Regions from separate parts of the Homo sapiens genome. Here region 2 is linked to region 1. The links are contacts of gene promoters, found by promoter capture Hi-C in blood cells and fetal thymus (Javierre and others, 2016). All regions are on one chromosome and are shown on one strand. The core of a region is centred on a gene start or on the middle of the fragment in contact, and the rest is flanking DNA. Distances in the headings are between cores, read along the strand shown. Region 1 holds the start of ENOX1 (ecto-NOX disulfide-thiol exchanger 1). Region 2 overlaps ENOX1 (ecto-NOX disulfide-thiol exchanger 1).

Evidence for each region. Contacts are between HindIII fragments. The CHiCAGO score rates a contact against its expected background, and 5 or more counts as called.
Region 2: a contact is called between a fragment that was not itself captured here and the fragment with the promoter of ENOX1 in region 1, in 1 of 17 cell types (megakaryocytes). The highest score is 5.6, in megakaryocytes.

Annotation. Positions count from the first base shown.
Region 1 is chr13:43,785,675-43,788,609 of GRCh38, forward strand. It overlaps ENOX1 (ecto-NOX disulfide-thiol exchanger 1), which reads right to left and starts at 1,298. Exons shown (of 17, transcript NM_001347969.2): 1 at 978-1,298. The HindIII fragment of the contact is 7,995 bases long and covers 1-2,935 here.
Region 2 is chr13:43,299,450-43,302,491 of GRCh38, forward strand. All of the region lies in intron 11 of ENOX1 (ecto-NOX disulfide-thiol exchanger 1), which reads right to left. Among named protein-coding and RNA genes, the nearest start is that of ENOX1-AS2, 150 kb to the right of the region's middle. The HindIII fragment of the contact is 1,731 bases long and covers 498-2,228 here.

The DNA of each region.
Region 1 (2,935 bases), core at 48-2,547:
CACAGAGCTGGGCTTGCCCACCTGTCGACCCCACTTTCCCCATGTGCTCGCCGCGGGATGACAACCACAACACTCCAGAACCACCCCCCTTCCGAAAGAGGGCGGGGTTACGCCTTCAGCCAATCAGGACCCGCGAGCCCCGGGTGTCCAACCTATGGGGTGGCTGTGGCCGTGCAGGGGGAGGACGTGGGGTGGTCTGGGAGGGGCCGCGTCCGTGGGAGGCTCGCACGTGTCGGGTCCGGAGAGGCGGGGAGGCGGCCGGCGTCCAGCGGCCGAGGCGCGGGCTCTGCACCCTGGCAGCGGCCGAGTCCGGCTGCCCCAGTGCCTCCTTTACCTCGCGTTGGGCCAGGCAGGGCGCGCTCCCGCCGACGAAGACCTGTCCAAGGTGTCCGAGCTCCCCGCGAGAGGGGACAGTCACGAATAACAACAGTACCCAGCGCAGACTAGGCGGGGAGGAAAGTTTCCGGCCCGCAGCAGAGCGGAGTCCGCCAAGGCTGGAGGAAAAGGGATGCAGAGCGGGAGGGTGAAAACCTGAAAGAAGAGGGCAGCGGGAACACTGTGTGGGCAGGAACGGGTCCCGGGGGCGACGCCCGCAGGGGGAGACGGGTGCGGGGTGCGCTGTCCAAGGTGCAGGGGAGGTGACTGGCGCGCGGCGGGCGCGGAGCCCGGAGCTGACACTGGCTGGCGGGCGGAGGGGAGAGCGGGGAACAGCTGTCTGGGGCGCTGGGCACCCCCGGGCGCGTAAAAGTGAGGGAGCTTGAGACGGGGCACGGCGGGGAAGGGCGTGGGGGCTGCACCGAAGCCCCCACGCGTCCACGCACCCCTCCTCACCAGCCTCACCTCTAGCTCCACTCCCCTCCCCCCTCGCCCACTCCCCTCTCAGTCTAGATCCAGGTGCCGTGGCGGGGGTGAGACCAGAGGACCCCGGCTCGGAGCCCGGACGCCCCAGGGAGGCTGCGGGCCCCGGAGCTGCTTACCTGGGGCCGCCGTATGGGGAGCGGAGGCAACCCGCTGCGCGGAGTGGGGCGCCGGGCGCGGCGCGGCTCCTCCTAGCCTCGGCGTCCTCCTCCTCCTTTGCTTCTCCCGGACTCTGTCCCGGGCACGGAGCTGGGAGACGCGGCCGGGCTGCAGTCGCCGTTCCCTCTGCTGCCGCCGCCGCTGCAGCAGACAGAGGACGCCCCGTGGCGGCTGGAAGCCTGTGTGAGTAGCGGCGCCCGGGAGAGCGGGGATCTGCTGAGGGGCGCTGGAGACTCCGCGGCTGGAGGCGCGCGGGCGTGCGCACGCGCGCCTGCGAGTGTGAGTGTATGGGTGCGCGCGCGCCCACGGGGTGGGGGAGTCGCGAGGGGAGGGGGAGAGAGGCCGAGAGATGCTCGTAGGGACCGAGGCAAAATTCTACGACCCCGGAAATCCGTAAACGCGGGGAAGGAGGATCGAACGCGTGTCTCGCTTGGAGAAGCTGCCCACGGGGCGGCAGCAGAGGAGGAGGGGAAGTCAGCGAGGCGCGCTAGGGCTCCGGATCCCAGCCCGGCAGAGCCGAGCGGAGCGCGCAGCCACCGATGCAGCAGAGGCGGCGCCCGCAGCCCACGGTCGCGCTGCCCCCTCTCGGGAGGGGCCGAGGCCGCTCGCTCCCGCCACCGCCGCCGCGGTCGGGACTGCTCTACTGGGAGCGGGGGAACCGAGAGAGGGACCGCACGGTTGCTACGGCGACCTTGGAGGGGCCGGGCCCGCTGAAGGGCCAAGAGAAGAACCCGGGCGCACGTGGCCGACTCCAGGCTGGAGCGGGCGTGTTACAGGATTGTGGGCTTGGGGTAGACGGTGGAATTGGGCCGCGTGGCCTGGGCAGATGATGCGGGGTGTGCGGCCCAGAGTGGCTCGGCCGGGGTGCGGTCAGCATTCAGGTTGGTAAGGGTGAGGGGATCCTAACCCCAGGTGACATGTTGCCTTTTTTTCCTCCTTGGAGGCTACTTTTTCTCAAAGTTACCCACTTCCCAGGTAAGAATGCCGGCCTCCTCTTTGTTAGGATTCAACTTAGCTGTGCAGGCATCTAAGCAGTGCCTCCTTAGAGTCAGGCTCGTCCAAGAACCGCTCCCACCACCTCCCCACACACACCCACATCCCCCGATCCTCCATCCCAACTACATTGTAATACTTCAGAAATAAATGTTTAAAGCACATTTACATTCTCTGCCTCTTAACAGATATATTGTCTTAGTAGTATACTTTTCCTTGCTTATTTTAAATTCTGAGTGGGATTTTATTCACACAAGCATTTCTTCAAGGGTCGTAAGGTCTGGGTAATACTTGAAATACCCTTTCTGGCAGGAATCCTCAATGCAGGGATTGTGTTTTGCACACTTTTGCATGCCTTCCAGTGCTTAGCATAGTACTCTGTACTTTGTGAGTTCCCTGTAAATGTTGAATGAATGACATTGTTTTCTAGCTTCACGTAACCTGAAGGCAAAGACTTGGATGCTGGGAAAGTCATTACCACCCCACTAGGCTTGCCTGATTTTAACTTATGCCATTTCCTTGTGTGTGGCTATTTTTCCCCCTGGCGGTCAGAACCCCAATGCAAAGAAAGAAAATAATACTTATCCATTGTGCACCCTTAACAAAGGATGCATGTAGAAGCACTCTGCAGGGACCCCAGTGGGATGCCCTGGGTGTGAGGGGGCCAAAGCTCAGAACCTAACCTCTCAAAATGTGAAAGTCAGTGTTCACCAGCAGTTTATACTGTCCCTTCTAGAGCAGAAGGATGGGGAAAACAGTTTTAAGAGAAATACACTTTTGTTTTTTGTTTTTTGAGACGGAACCTCGCTCTGTCACCCAGGCTGGAGTGCAGTGGCGCGATCTCGGCTCACTGCAACCTCTGCCTCCCGGGTTCAAGCGAATTCTCCTGCCTCAGCCTCCTAGTAGCTAGGATTACAGGCGCCGG
Region 2 (3,042 bases), core at 113-2,612, 490 kb before region 1:
ACCCCCACCAAGCCTGTGATGCCGGTGCTGGTCTTATGCTCATCTTTACAGATGAGAAAAATGTGGCACAGAGAAGTTATGTAACTCATCCAATCCCACAAAGTAAGTAGCAGAAAGCCTTCACACCCAGGCTGCAGGCTCCAGAGTCTCTGCTCTCGATTACCATCGGTCCATGTGTTTAGTTCTTACCAGGCTGTTCAAAACCAGTCTCACATTCCCCCACCAACTCTCCCACCACTCTCCCTTTAATCTTCCCCCTCACAGAAAAGCCATTCCCCACTTGTGTAAGCAAGAGAAAAGTGAAAGAAAATTTGAAACGCTTGTTACCAGAAACTTCAAACATGTAACTTCCAGTAGATAAGGGCACGGTGTGGAGCCCACTGCACACCAGGTCGTCAGTGCATGCGCGTTTCCAGCCCCCGCTCCCCGTGTCAGAGGACCAAATCAAGGTCGCCTCCTGAGTGTTCTACCTGCACATTACAGTTCCATGGTGATAAAGCTTTACTGAGGTTCTCTGAGACCACAGTGAATTCTCTCCTCAAATATCAAATGTCAAATTATGTTAATAATAGTTTTATAGTTGAGTGTTTTACAGTACTCCATCTTGCAAAATGATAATCTCTGTGTAGTACACACTGAACTACTAATCAGACAGAACATGCAATTACCCAGAAATTTCCCTACCTCAAGCCAGTAGGGATCAATTACTTAACACGCATTTACTTCATATTTACTGTGCTCAGGTCCGTGAGGGCATCTCAGACCACAAAAAGAGGAGACAGAATACATCTCTTCTCTCAAAGAGCTTAATCTAGTAGAAACTGACACATTTAAAAAGAAACTATTGCTTTCAAAGGAAGAAAGGATAGTGTGATGTCTGGAATACAGCAGACACTCAATAAATGTTGGTTGAATGAATAAATGAATAAATAAATGAGTCGAGATGCATGACAAAAAAATGCATCCTATAGGAGTTCAGAGAAGAGAAATAAAAATTCAGACTGAAGGAATAAAAGAGGGCTTTGGAAGATGAAAACCCCAAGAACTTGGAAAGGATGTCTCTCAGTCAGAAGCCAGAGCATAAGCAAAAGCCCAGATATGAAAATCAAAGGTAGAACACTTGGGGCAAGAAGGAGAGAAACTCGACCAAAAGCCAAGTGTTTGCCTGGAAGCAGTGAGAGAAAGGGAATCCACGTCAGGTGATGGGAGAAGATGGGGAAGGTTAGGTTCAATGGAGTGGCCAATTGAGAACCACTGACAGCGCTTGGAGTAGTGGAAGGACATGATGAAATTGGGATTTAGGAACATTAGTTTGGCAATGGTGCATGGAATGAACTGGAGGCTGAAGAGAATGAATAAAGGAGATTTCATTTGGTGTATGTGTGTGCAAAACCAAGGAGCAGCCACTTTTACAGTTTTCAGAGACCTACTCATAAAATCAGAAATTATCCAGCACATAACCCGCAGCATGAGCCAGTGCTTTTTAACATTGTGCAGCCCAGCTTCAGATCTTGTCCACACCCTGAGATACCACCTCCTGACAGCTCCGTTTACCAAGCCATAAGGAAATGGTTATGAGGATTCATTTGTGAGAGGGATGTTGTAATAGGGCAAAATCACAGAAAATGCAAATGATGAAGAAAGTGTTGGCACTGCATAGGCACATTACTACATTTAGTAGCATTCAAAGACACTTAAGTCATTTCCTTAGGAAGCTCTATTTGGCCCTTTTTCAATTCAGAGTGGCATTTTTATTATCATAACTGATAGCAGGTGTTTGTGAAGAAATCGATTAGTACGCAGGGATGGAAATTACATTTTCCAAATGAATTGCATAGTCTGCAAGATATGCTGAAATCTGTATAGCAAAATGCAAGCAGCTATAAAGCATGTGCCAACAGCATTATTTAAATAAATTATCTGAACATAAATACATATAGGAAAGTGTACCATCCATTATTTTAGGGGATCTCTTACAAACCTATGGAATGGTACTGCTGAGAGTTCTTATTCTTGGCTAAGCCAAGTGACTACAGTGCCTGCCAAGCAGTATATAATATTGTTTGCATTCCCGGAATAGGAATGTGATATCATCATATTAAAAAAACCCACAACAGCTGTAATTCCCCCACCAAAAAAAAAAAAAAAATCAATACCATAGCAAATTCCATCAACATTTTTATAATTGGGGCACATAACTGATTTACATTCCTGATTAAATGATTTCAAGCTTGGTTTTTACAAAAAAATTTTCGTTACTCATGTGGCAGCAAGTAGTTATCTTCTAAAGGGTGAGAAATTGTATATTGACTCCACTTAGCTTCAGGCCACCTGTTTGTAAACACCACTCAGTGTCATACTGCAGCCCTGAATCTATTCCTCAGACAAGGCTGCCTGGAAGAGGCTATATTATGTTTCTTGGGCCAGAGCGCTAACAGAAAAAAAATCCTAATAATTTCTGACTTAATATAACTTCTCAGTATATTAAAAATTCAGAAATTGGAAAGGGAAACTTTTTATTTCTCTCTCTTCTCTTTCTTTCTTTCTGGAATACTGTACTAAATTAAAGAGTTTTGAAAAAATGTGTCATCAAGCTTCCATAATAAAATTTACCTTATGAGACTGCACAATGAATCCACTATCCAAATAAGTATAAGGATTAAAAAAAAAAAAAGTACAGTGTGCATCTTTCGGTAGGAATTCCTAAGGAGTGCACCGAGTGCCAATAAATGGAATATGTAAGAGACACCCCATGTGGATTACCAATTTCCGATAATAAAAAAAGAATAGAATTAGACACCTTAAATGTCAACCGGACTGAATGTGATTAAATATTTTGTTGGTGATTTTAAAGGCACTGCTGAATCTAGTGGTGCCTCTGGATTACCATCAATTAATTCACCAGCCACCCATTTATGTATTTATTAAGAAAACATGGTGAGGAGCTGTAGCATTCACAAGAAGCTTAAGGCCAGCACAGTCACCCATTTCTAGTTACTCAGTAATTTAGAAAAATTCTGAATACTGGAATTTTCTGATTGG